Regions from separate parts of the Homo sapiens genome. Here region 2 is linked to region 1. Evidence: promoter capture Hi-C in 16 types of primary human blood cells and fetal thymus (Javierre and others, 2016). All regions are on one chromosome and are shown on one strand. The core of a region is centred on a gene start or on the middle of the fragment in contact, and the rest is flanking DNA. Distances in the headings are between cores, read along the strand shown.

Evidence for each region. Contacts are between HindIII fragments. The CHiCAGO score rates a contact against its expected background, and 5 or more counts as called.
Region 2: a fragment that was not itself captured here is called in contact with the fragment with the promoter of TESK1 in region 1 in 1 of 17 cell types (naive B cells); the score reaches 5.4 in naive B cells.

Annotation. Positions count from the first base shown.
Region 1 is chr9:35,602,227-35,608,143 of GRCh38, reverse strand. TESK1 (testis associated actin remodelling kinase 1) reads right to left here and starts at 2,882. Exons shown (of 10, transcript NM_006285.3): 1 at 2,306-2,882; 2 at 2,039-2,160; 3 at 1,859-1,907; 4 at 1,161-1,307; 5 at 735-817; 6 at 472-562; 7 at 133-216. The coding sequence starts at 2,524. MIR4667 (microRNA 4667) reads right to left here and starts at 50; the gene lies at 1-50. RefSeq lists silencers at 2,017-2,276, 2,058-2,352, 2,287-2,456, 2,477-2,776, 2,807-3,056 and an enhancer at 3,537-3,646. The HindIII fragment of the contact is 3,621 bases long and covers 1-3,088 here.
Region 2 is chr9:35,758,607-35,764,523 of GRCh38, reverse strand. It overlaps a transcript of RGP1 not described here. Among named protein-coding and RNA genes, the nearest start is that of MSMP, 7.3 kb to the right of the region's middle. The HindIII fragment of the contact is 1,958 bases long and covers 1,465-3,422 here.

The sequences.
Region 1 (5,917 bases), core at 1,633-4,132:
AGGGACCTCCAAGTCAGCTTTTCTTGGGTTCTCCTTCTGCTCCCCAGTCAGAACCTCAACCTCTAGGGAATCCTCCTTGGTTATGAGCCAGCTAGTCTGGAATTCTTTCTTTGCAAACCTAGAAACATTCACCTCAGTGCGTGGTAGGTAGTCAGGGTCTGCAGGTACTCGGGCGATGAGCTCACAGAGGACAATCCCGAAGGCAAAGACATCAGCCTGGGGGTCAGAGATAATAGTGTCGGGGAAGAATTAACAGTTTTCATTTCAGAATTTTGACAGAATATAGCAGAATTTGGTTGAGGGTGGGGGATCTTGACAGTTTTCATGTGTTAGAAGGGTGCCTGTGAGGGGCAAAGGGATCTTGGGGACTCCTGAAGATCTGGTAGGGTTGTTTTGGGGATGGATGGGGCTTTATGAGAATACCTCAAGGGTCTCGGAAGGCCTTGGGGATCTGAAGGGTTGATGTCTCACCTTCTCATCATACAGCTCACCCCGTAACACCTCTGGAGCCATCCAGTATGGGGAGCCCACCACGGCCAATGGCTCCTTCCTTGCCCCCTCCCTGCAGGGGCAGGGGCAGAGTGGTCAGAAGCATCCTATTCAGGCATCCCCCCCAGGCAAAAGGGGATGAGGTGAACTCCCTCCGTTCCCCAAGGGAAACATCCCTGGGGCTCTGGGGACATCAGATAGGGGCACTCTGGGAGATTTGGGGGGAACAGGGACATTCATCTCACCTATACACAGGAATCTTTTCGGCCAGCCCGAAGTCACCCACGACAGCGGTGAAGCCTCGATCTTCCCGTCGGACTAGACAGTTCTGACACACACACACATAGTATCCCCACGCACTCATCACCTTCTGCTGTCTGGCCTCCCAATGTATAACCCAAAGCCCTGTCACTCCAGCATAACTCCAACCCTCTCTGCTCTCCCAGTTTTTCAAGGCACTTCAATATTGCAACATCATCCAACACTCCAAACACAGGGTGCTACTCAGTCCCTCCGAGCACTCCCCTCACCCTGGTCCCCCAATATTCTCCAATGCCTTGCCACTCCAACATCCTAATATATCTGTTATCCATATTCCAACATCCACAGGCCAGTTACAACCTAATAGCCTCAAACCCTCTTTCATGTCTCCACCCACCCTGCTAGCCTACCTTGGATGTGAGGTCGCGGTGAAATACACCTTTGGAGTGCAGGTACCGCAGGCCTCGGGCAATGTCCAGGGCCAGGTGGAGCCTGACCGGCCAGGACAGGGGTTCAGGGGAGCTGAGCAGCTGTTCCAATGTCCCCCCATTCATATACTGGTGCATAGGAGGAGAATGGGAATAGATGTCAGACTTCAGTCTGTATTCTAGGTCCCCCACTTACACGCTAGGGGACACTCCCGAGGATCACAGAGGTCATAGGGGTAAGACTGTGCTGTAGGACCCCCCCCATCCATGTTCTAGGATTGCCCCGTTCAACTCAATAGCCATTAGCCATGTGCAACAATTTAAATAATTTAAAAAATTTTTTAATCAAGTTGACCCACAAAAAATAATCTAAACAATGAAAATAATTTAAATTTAACCACATGTGGCTAGTGGCTACTGTATTGGACAGCACAGATAGAGAACATTTCCGTCACTGAAGAAAATTCTATTGGACAGCACTGTTCTAGGGGATACAGAGAATAAGACCAGTTGAGGCCTTTTATATGTGGTTTGCCTAAAGGAAAGTTCAGGAAAGCCTCCCCTGAGAGGAGATCCTGTTGCCTCTCACTAGTCCTCCGTAGATCCACCAGGCCTGTTGACTCCCTTTATCCTTGGGGGTGAAGGGGGGTGGGGATCCCTCCTTCCTGGCCTATCCTCACCTCTGTAAGAGCGTGCAGCTGTCCCTGGTGCACACAGACTCCCATGAACCTGCAAGAGGATGGGGAAGATAGAAGGATAGGCTATTAAAGGCCTCAGCTCCTCCTCAGTTCCACTTTTCCCGCGGGATCTTTCCCTTTCTCTCCCGCCCAGCAAGCTGCCCAGAGACTGGGGCCGCTCACCTTAGGATGTTGGGGTGCCTGAGCCGGTTCATCAGCTGCACTTCCCGTAGTGTGTTGCCCCGGTTACTGGGGAGCTTGTTCATCTTCAGCACCATGACTTGCCCTGACTGTCGGTGCCGAACCTGGGGGCAGGAGCAGCCGGCGAGGGCCGGGCAGGTCGGGCGGGTCGCCGGAGTCTGGACCCTCTTCCCCGCACTCCCGGCCCCCTAGTTTCAGCCTCTGGTTGAAGGCTCGGTCCCGCCCCTCTGCCCTCTCGGCCGGTCCTACCTTGTAGACCTCAGAGAAGAAGCCGGCCCCGATCTTCTCCGCGCAGTGAAAATCGTCCACACGCGCCAGGCTAGACACGGCGCTGCGGAGAGCCCGGTAGGAGGAGGGGCGGCCCCGGCCCGGGCCTCCGCCCGTGCCCCCCGGCCCCGGGGGCCCCTCCCCCGGCACCTCTCCAGGCCCGGGCCCAGGGCCCCGCAGTGGGGGCCGTTCCCCGGCCATGGCCGGGCCCCCAGCCCGGGCCTGCCTCACATGGCAGGGTCCCCAGGGCCCGGGCAGGCCGCGCTTGCCATGGGCGCGGGCCCAGCCCGATCCCGGGCGCCCGGACTCCGGCTCCCGCCCTGAGAATGGAAGATCCGCCGAAGATCCTGGACCCGCCCCCGCCGCGCCGGCTGGCTGGGCCCGGGTGGACGCCGCGCCGCTCCGCTCCGCGCAGGGCCTGGGCTTGGGCCTGGACCGGGCGGTGGCGGTGACGGTGGCGGCAGCGCTCCGGGGCGCCGGCGGGCTGGCTTGCCGCGGGCGGAGGCGGGCGGGCGGGCGGGCGGCGGCTGCTCCGCTTAGCCGCCGGGGATCAGGCTCCGCGGCCTGCCGGGGGCGGGGCTGGGCCGGGCCTCCGCTTAACTCCTTCCAGCCCGGCCTCCCGGCAGCGGCCACGCCCCCTCAGGTGCGCACCCCCGCCTCCCCGCTTTCCGGCCGCGATGCCCTGGGCCGCCCGGGTCAAATAAGCTCCGGCCTGAGCTTGAATAACGGGAGGGAATTAAGGGCTGATGGTGCGCATGCGAAGCTTAGCTGCCCAGGGAGTCCCCTCTCCTCCCTGGGTTACTGTCCGTTGAGGGTCGGGCTCAGAAACCTGCCGGATTCCTGGGCTCCAGGGACCAACGGGGCAGAAAGGTAGGCCCCTCAGGCCCAGCCGCAATCAGAGGTAGCCTAGCAACCTGTCCACCTTCCTGGCCTGCGCCCCGGCCCAGCCTGCCCATTTCCCAGGTCTCTTCGACTCCGACACCTTGAACCTCTGGCCTCCCTAACACCTTCTACCTTCACGGGAGGTTGTGATACCCCGGGGCTATAGGAAGCCTTTGGCCGGCCCATACCCAGCTTAGCCCCGACTCCTCCTCACTTCATCCTGCCGCCTCCCAATAAAGAAGAGAGTCCAGGTCCTCCGCCCTGTGACCACCCAGCCGGGACCTCCCTCTTACTACTTTGCCCAAAAGACTCTAAGAGAGAAGCCTCCACCTGCAGGGAAGCCCGTCCTTCCGCAAGATCCCACCCCCCTCAAAGAACGCTGTCCCTCGGAGACCCCTCCCTTCCTCAGTGAGACACCTCCCTTTCGGGGGCACTTTTCCCCAGTGTGGCACTGCCACCGTCAGTGTGTCAGAACCCCTCAGTGCTGCACCCCCTTGCTCTGTGTTCCTCCCACGCAGTGAGACCCCACCTCCGAGGAAATCCACTAGTCATTGTGACCCCTCCTCTCAAGGTGACTCCTCCCCTCAGTGTGACCCAGCCCTCCTCAGTGTGAGGGTTCCGCCCTCCACGTAGGAACACGGTCTGCCCCCTAAGGCCGGAGGAGGGGCTGCAACTGGCCTCTTTAAGTCGGCGCGGTGCCTGGGTGCGCACGCAGTCTCAGGACTCCGTGCACTCGCCGTACCAGACGCTTCCGGTTCTGCCGCTGGTTCCTCCTCCGGCCTCGGCGAAATAGCCAATCATCGCTAGGGTTGGGTGGTGACACGCGATCCCGGCGGTCCACTCCGGGGCAAACGGTTTAAAAGGGCGTCGTTGAGCCGCCTGCCACCTAGCGGCGGAACGGTGGGCGGAGGGAGAGAAAGCTGCCGTCTCGAGTGCGGAGGCAGGCTGAGAGCTCCTCGAGGAAGCGAGGCTGAGTCCTGCAGGAATTCTCAAGTACTGTATTGATATTTCTGTAGTAAGCTTAAAAGAGAATTAATACAAGCACAGTCCGTATCGCGTGGGGTTACCGTCTTCCAATGGAGTCTGGTTACACGTTTATGAGACTTGGAGCCAAGAAATACTACTCGCTTGTCGAGGGCTACTGAGAAAAGAATAAAGACGGTCATAAATGATACATGATGCCTTAGAGTCAAGAGAAGGCCAGATGCTGTCTTGGTGCGCTGTACAAGGGAAGGTATTGCACAAGTTTGGAGCGAGAGGAATGGGAGACATTCGCAATCCTTCCACAGCCGGTGGAGGCAGGCCAACCTCACAGAATTGCACGGGGCACGTGCATCCTGTTCTTTTTTCTGGAGGCGTTTGGTCTTCAGCACACGCTCATTCATCACATTAATGTTAACATCTACAACTAATTTGTGAATTTGCTTTTTATTGTATGACATCTGTAAACACTAGGAATTTATGCCTCATTTTGTTTAATATCATAGATCTTTTAACCGACACTGGGTTCTGGCCCTTTATCACGTTTGAGAATTACTGTAGTAGTTGGTGATGGTAATGCCAAGCCAAAGAGCCAGGTGCCTATTTTTTGTAAGATGATTGCGGTGGTTGTATGGAGGCCGGGAGACTGATTAGGAAGGAGGCTGTGACTGTGGTTCAATCAGGAAAGGATGAGACCAGCCTGGCCAACGTAGTGAAACCCCGTCTCTACTAAAAATACAAAAAAATTAGCCTGATGTGGCGAGCGCCTGTAATTCCAGCTACTCTGGAATCTGAGGCAGGTGAATCGCTTGAACCCGGGAGGCGGAGGTTGCAGTGAGCCAAGATCGCGCCATTACACTCCTGTCTAGGCGACAAGAGCGGGACTCTGTCTCAAAAAAACCTTTTGTTGTTGTTTGTATGGTGGAAAATGTCTTAACACACACACACAGAATAGAAAAATGAATGTTTATTTACCTTGGATTAGTAAGACCATTTTGTTGGAAACCCATAGTGCAAAATTGGCTTTCCTTTGCCTCAGTTGTACTGTTGCCATATTTGACCTGGCCCAGGTGAAAGTACCTACTTTCATTTACCCTTCTATGTCAGTGATTCTCCAATGAGCAATTCATGGCCAATCTTGTTTCATCTATACCCGTGCCCTCTTCCCCACTCCATATTTGTGTATATTTCTGACATATCATTTCATCCTGTAAATGTTTCAGTACGTTATCTCTAAATGATAAGGATTCTTCTTTAAAACCAAATCACAGTATTGTCACACCAAAAAAAAACAATAGTTCCTTCATGTCATCAAGCATCCAGTTGTTTACATTTCCCTCACTGTCTTACGTTTGATTTTTAAAAATTGTTTATTTGAATCAAAATCTAAATTAGGTCTGTACTTTGCAGGTGATATGTCTGTCTGTCTGTCTCTCTTTTTGTGAGACAGGGTCTGGCTCTATCACCCAGGATGGAGTGCAGTGGGTTGATCTCGGCTCACAGCAACCTCCACCCCCGAGGCTCAAGCAATCCTGCCTCAGCCTTCTGAGTGGCTGGGACTACTGAGGTGTGGGTACCACCACACCTGTCTAATTTTTGTATTTTTGTAGAGATGGGGTTTGCCACGTTGCCCAGGCTGGTCTCAACTCCTGGGCTCAAGCATTCCATTCGCCTTGGCCTCCCAAAGTGCTGGGATTATAGGTGTGAGCCACCACACCCAGCCATATGTTT
Region 2 (5,917 bases), core at 1,194-3,693, 160 kb before region 1:
AATTATATTTCAATAAAGTTGAAAAAAGTATTTTGAAACAGTTATTTAAAAGTATTTTTTGTTATCAATAGTAGCTGGCCAACAAATCATTATAGAGATTAAGCAGCCCATTAGTAATATAAGGTTATCCTTGCTCCATTAGCCTTCTGAAACATACCGGAAGAATGAGTTCTCTGTCCAGTGGAAATGGAGGTTAATTTGTTATCCAATCCACAGGAGTTAAAGAGTGTGAATATGCACACTTCTCATCATTAGCTTAAGTCGAATTTTTAAAAATCAGACCAAGTGCTAAGAATTGAAATTAACTTTTTCCCAAAAGGATAATGCTTCAAAAGATCTCCATTGTGGGAAAACAAAACACTTCACTTCTTTTTTCTTCTTCTTCTTTTTATTTTATTTTATTTTCAAGACAGGGTCTCACTCTGTCTCCCAGGCTGAGTGTGGTGGCATGATCATGGCTCACTACAGCCTCAACCTCCTAGCCTCAAGCCGTCCTCCCACCTCAGCCTCCTGAGTAAAAAAAGGAAGTCCCTCTTCCTCCCCTCCTCTCTCTCCTTTCTCAATCTCTCTTATCAGAGTTAATGTCTGTCATCAGTCTGATGAGTTTTTTCTTTTCTCTTTTCTTTTTTTTTTTTTTTTTTTGAGATGGAGTCTCACTCTGTTGCCCAAACTGGAGTGCAGTGGCAAGATCTTGACTCACTGCAATCTCCATCTCCCAGGTTCAAGCGATTCTCCTGCCTCAGCCTCCCAAGCAGCTAGGATAACAGGCATACACCACCACACTCGGCTAATTTTTGTATTTTTAGTAGAGACAGGGTTTCGCCATGTTGGCCAGGCTGGTCTCGAACTCCTGACCTCAGGTGATCTGCCTGCCTTGGCCTCTCAAAGTGCTGGGATTACAGGCGTGAGCCATCGCGCCCAGTCTGATGTGTTTTCTTCCAGGCAATTTCTATATATCTCATTCTTGTTTTAAAAAATGCATGCATGTGAGATATAAATAGGATTGTATTATTCATATTATTATGTAACTTGCTTTTTATGGGCTGTGATTTTCTGTTTCTTTTGTATCTTCTTGTCATGCCTGATTAAAACTGTACACATGAAAATCTTGCCAAAGGTGAAGTCTAGGAATAGGGAGGGACTCCGTTAATCTCACTATTATATAGCCCATTAATTACTCATAATAGGATGGATTTAGGCTCTCATTCAGCTGAACAATGAGGATCCTAAAGAATGCTAACACAAGGTTAGCCTGAAAAGTTCTAAGAGATAGGGAGAAGGTTCTTAAACAGGGAAATCTCAGGACGAAAACAATGTTCCAAGAAGAATAAAATGGCAACAGTATATATAATATAGAACAGAATTAGACAGCAAGGAGACTAGTTAAGTGGCTAATACAGAATAGTAAATTAGAAGAAATGAGATTCTGGATTACAGTGGTGGCCAGTAGAATGGAGAGAAGCTTTCATTGAATTCTAACAAGGCAGACTTGTAGAGTGGAAGAAACAAAAGATTTGAACTAGAAGAGCTAGATTTGAATCCCAGCTCTGAAATTTACTAGCTGTGTGACCTCTGGCAAGACACTTCTTCCGTATCTCAGCTTCCCTTTCAATAAAAGGAACACCTTGAAATATCAGAGCCTTTAACTTTTTTTTTTTAACAGCAGAACTGTTTTTTTTTTTCCGTTAAAAAGAAAATCTTCAAGGAAGCCAGTACGTTTAATTTGTAAAACAAATAAAAGCAAGATTGTTCTGGTTGAAGCATAGGTAAAAGGGCTCAGAGCCCCAGCTAGCCTTCATTTCACCCTTCTCAGCCACTTCTGAGGCATCCTTCAGAAATCTCCAGAGGGCTGAGGAACAAAGTTTGAGAAATCTCTAAAGACTTTACTATCAACTCTATTATCAATTACTTGAGGGGGTAAAATTGACAGAGGTGCCTAGAAAAATAATAATGAATTTAATAGTGCCACAGAATCATATGACAGAAAAAGGGCGAATTGACTTTTCCTAAATCTGCCTGCTTCTCCTTGCAGGTTGAACCCAATTTAATGTCTAAAACCTCATCCGACCCTTGTGCAAACGGTCATCTAACCTCTATATGAACAATATGGCCAAAATTTACTGCCTAACAATTCAGTTCATTCCACTTTGGGGTCCTCAAATGAGTCAAAATTTCCTTATCAAGCCAAAATTTGTCCTCCATCACTAAATAAAAGTTCTTAATCTATCTTCTGGAACTAAACCAGTAAATCTAATTGCTCCTTCATCATGACAGTCCTTCAATTGTCTGAGGAGAGCTATCATGTCTGCCTTATTTCCTTGTATTCTCCCTTGCTCTTGCTCTGGCATGACATGAATATACCATGGAGGCAGCCTGCTCCTGTTTTGGATCAAGTTGAATTTTTTTTTTCAACAGAATCTCACACTGATCTCGGCTCACTGCAACCTCTGCCTCAGGTTCAAGTGATTCTCCTGCCTCAGCTGGGATGACAGGCATGTGCCAACATGCCTGGATAATTTTTTGTATTTTTGGTAGAGATGGGGGGTTTTACCATGTTGACCAGGCTGGTCTCAAACTCCTGACCTCAAGTGATCTGCCTGCCTCGGCCTCCCAAAGTGCTGGGATTACAGGTGTGAGCCACCACACCCAGTCAGAGTCAGTATTTTAAAGCATCTAAGTGCAAGTAGGTTTTCATTTATTTGTGGCTTTAAGGAAACTTAATTTAATCAAGCCAGATGATCCTCCTTTAAAAAATGACTAGCTTTGATAACTAAGTGTAAATAGAACCCAAATTCATTATTTGGTTGTTTTTGTTTTTTTGGGGTTTTTTGTTTGTTTGTTTGTTTGTTTGAGACAGGGTCTTGCTCTGTCACCCAAGCTGAAGTGCAGTGGCACAATCATGGCTCACTGCAGCATCGACCTCCCAGGCTCAAGTGATTCTCTCACCTGAGCCTCCCAAGTAGCCGAGACTACGGGAGTGCACCACCACACCTGGCTAATTTCTGTATTCTTTTTTGTAGAGACAGGGTTTTGTCATGTTACCCAGGCAGGTCTTGAACTCCTGGACTCAAGCACTCCATCTGCCTCATGTTCCCAAAGTGCTGGGATTACAGGCATGAGCCATGCACCTGGCCCTAAAAATATTCTTTTCTTACTGAACATTAGCTGCTTCCAGTGTACTAGAAGTAGATTGCCAAACCTTTTGGCCCAAAGCAAATTGTAAAGACATTTAGCTAGGGATGCAAAAACATCTAAGACTCAAGGTCCAGTGAAGCAGGCATAAATAACATAATAAATAAAGAGAAGCATCCTGATTCCAAAACTTGCATCTAACAACCAACTCCCAGGGAAATGTAGTTCTCATGATTACAAATTCAATTATCACCAAAATGACATGAAATATCAATGCTAGAAGGAAAGCTTCATTCATCATTCCTTATCCTACCCACCCCATAAATCTACTACCAGGTCTGTGAAATCAGGATCTGTGGCTTGGGCCTCAGTCTCTGCCAGTCTGGGTAGTTTTGGGGATGGGGAAAAGGAAGTATGGCTGAGTCCCTAAGGAGAAAGCAAGCCAGCATAATCACAGTCCATGATGCTTGTGGGAGCACTGAGCCTGTACAGTTTCCTGTGCTCCAGTTGTCTTGGTAACCTGAGGCCTCCTTATTTGTGTTGGCATCATGGGGCCAAAAGCGGAAGCAAAGCTGGAACACCAGGAAGACTTGCAGGAGAAAAAAATGTAGATAATGCAGCAGTTATGCCACAGGAGGGTCAAGCCTAGGGCAGAATTACCTGGTTGGGGGTGGGAAGGTAGTGTCTTGTAAAAATCAGATCTCTGGGTTCTACCTTCAGCGTTTCTGATTCAGTAGGTCTAGGATAAGCTCAGGAACCTGCAATTTTAAGAAGCTACCACCTACCAAGTAAGTCAAAGACCACACTTTTAAAATTCCAGCTACAAATCAGCAGTTGGGAAGAGAAAGTATAACCATTTAATCAATTTCAAAAAGCTGATATTCTAGTACAGTAATTCTATACACTGGAGTAGAGGGTATATTTTGTCTTCCAGGAACATTTGGCAGGATTTGGAGACATTTTGGTTGTCACATCTGAGATAATATCATTGGCATCTACTGAGCAGATGCTAAGCATCCTACGATGCACAGGACAGCCCCCCACAACAAAGGATTATCCTCCAAAATGTTAACAGTGTCACTGAGAAACTCTATTCATGAGGATATTCTGCTCTCCCAACAATGGCCCCCCACCCCGCCCATCAGCCCCAATCCATTGGAAATCAGTGCTACACAGTTTAGGTCACAATGCAGAGACTTATGCGAGATCCCCTGAAAAACTTTTGAGACCCCAGAAATCTTTTTTAAAATGGTGAATTTCATTAAAGAGATAGAAAAGGAGAAGATTAGAACTGACAATAAAGGAAAGTAAGTATGGGCAACAAGGGTGAACCAAAAAAGGGATCAAAGGAGGCTGAGGCGCTGAGTGACAGCAGCGGGAAATCAATGCTGCCCCTCAGTGGACGCAGCCCATTTGTAAAGAGATGATAAACCCATGAAAAATAACAGGCACAAAAAATGAAAAAAAAAAAAAAGGAAAAATGAATAAAGGAACTGTGTAGAAATAGCTTTAGGATTCATCAAGTGTAGATCTGGATGAAAAAAGGACATTAGAGATTCTTCTACAAAAGGATGCTTAAATAAAAATTCTCCAGCAAAGACGACAGGACTTCTAGAAGGAGATCAATAATTATATCAGAAAGGAAAAAAATTTTAAGTATTTACAACCCTCTACTCCTAATCACCCCCAAGATAGGTGGGTCCAGAAAAATGCACCTTGGTTTTACTGAGGAGAGATCATGAGAGGGAAGGGAAAGTGGAGAAGCAATTTCAGTTTCATAGCAAAGAATTCTTTTTTTTTTTTTTTTTTTTTTTTTTTTTTTTTGGAGACAGGGTCTCCCTCTGTCACCCAGGCTGGAGTGCAGTGCAGTGATGCAATCTCGGCTCACTGGAGCCTCAGCCTCCCAGGTTCCAGTGATTCTCCCATCCCAGCCTCCAGAGTAGCTGGGATTACAGGAACGCGCCACCACACCCAGCTAATTTTTGTATTTTTAGAGACAGGGTTTCACCATGTTGGCCAGGCTGGTCTCAAACTCCTGGTCTCAAGCAATCTGCCTGCCTCGGCCTCCCCAAATGTTGGGATTACAGGTGTGAGCCACTGTGCCCAGTCCATCATCTATTGTCTGTAATAATTTAGAAATCTGGCACCAGGATTATGAAATTCACTATACAGTGTGTGGCATAACACCAAGCTTAAATGGTCACTCAGTGGACTTCACAATAATGGCCACTTTATGCTTCTGGATGCAAAACGTTGGGAGAGTTTGAAGTGGATATGAATTTGAGAATGCGTTTTCTTGTAGGAAAAGTAATGGAAACATAAGCATCTTTTTCTAATCACAGGAAAGGTTAAGGCTTTGGTGAAAGCAAGCATAACTGAGTTTAAAAACAGTCTAGAATAAGAAAAGGGTAATAGAAGAGGAAGGAAGGCAGAAGTGGACCATGCAGAATAAACAATCAAGCCTAGCTTTTTTAAAAACCTGAGGTCTTACTAAAGAGAAAGGAGGAAAAACGGAAGATTTCAACATAAGAGTGTTAAAGGTGGAAAAGAGCCAGAAAGGACTGTGGGCTTAAAAAAAAAAAATCAGTGAAGCAGTAGTGGTGTATGTTGGCAAAGAGAAGTGTAGAGTTGAGAGGAGGGAGAGAATTTATAGTAGAGGAAGTCGGTGTGAAGTTTTCCTCTCAAGATGCCCAGCAGAGCAAAGAAGGAATGAAGGCAAAGGCCACTGGGAATAGAGTAGGGCTGGGGCTAAAACAGCACGGGAGAGTGCAACAGGGCCCAAAGT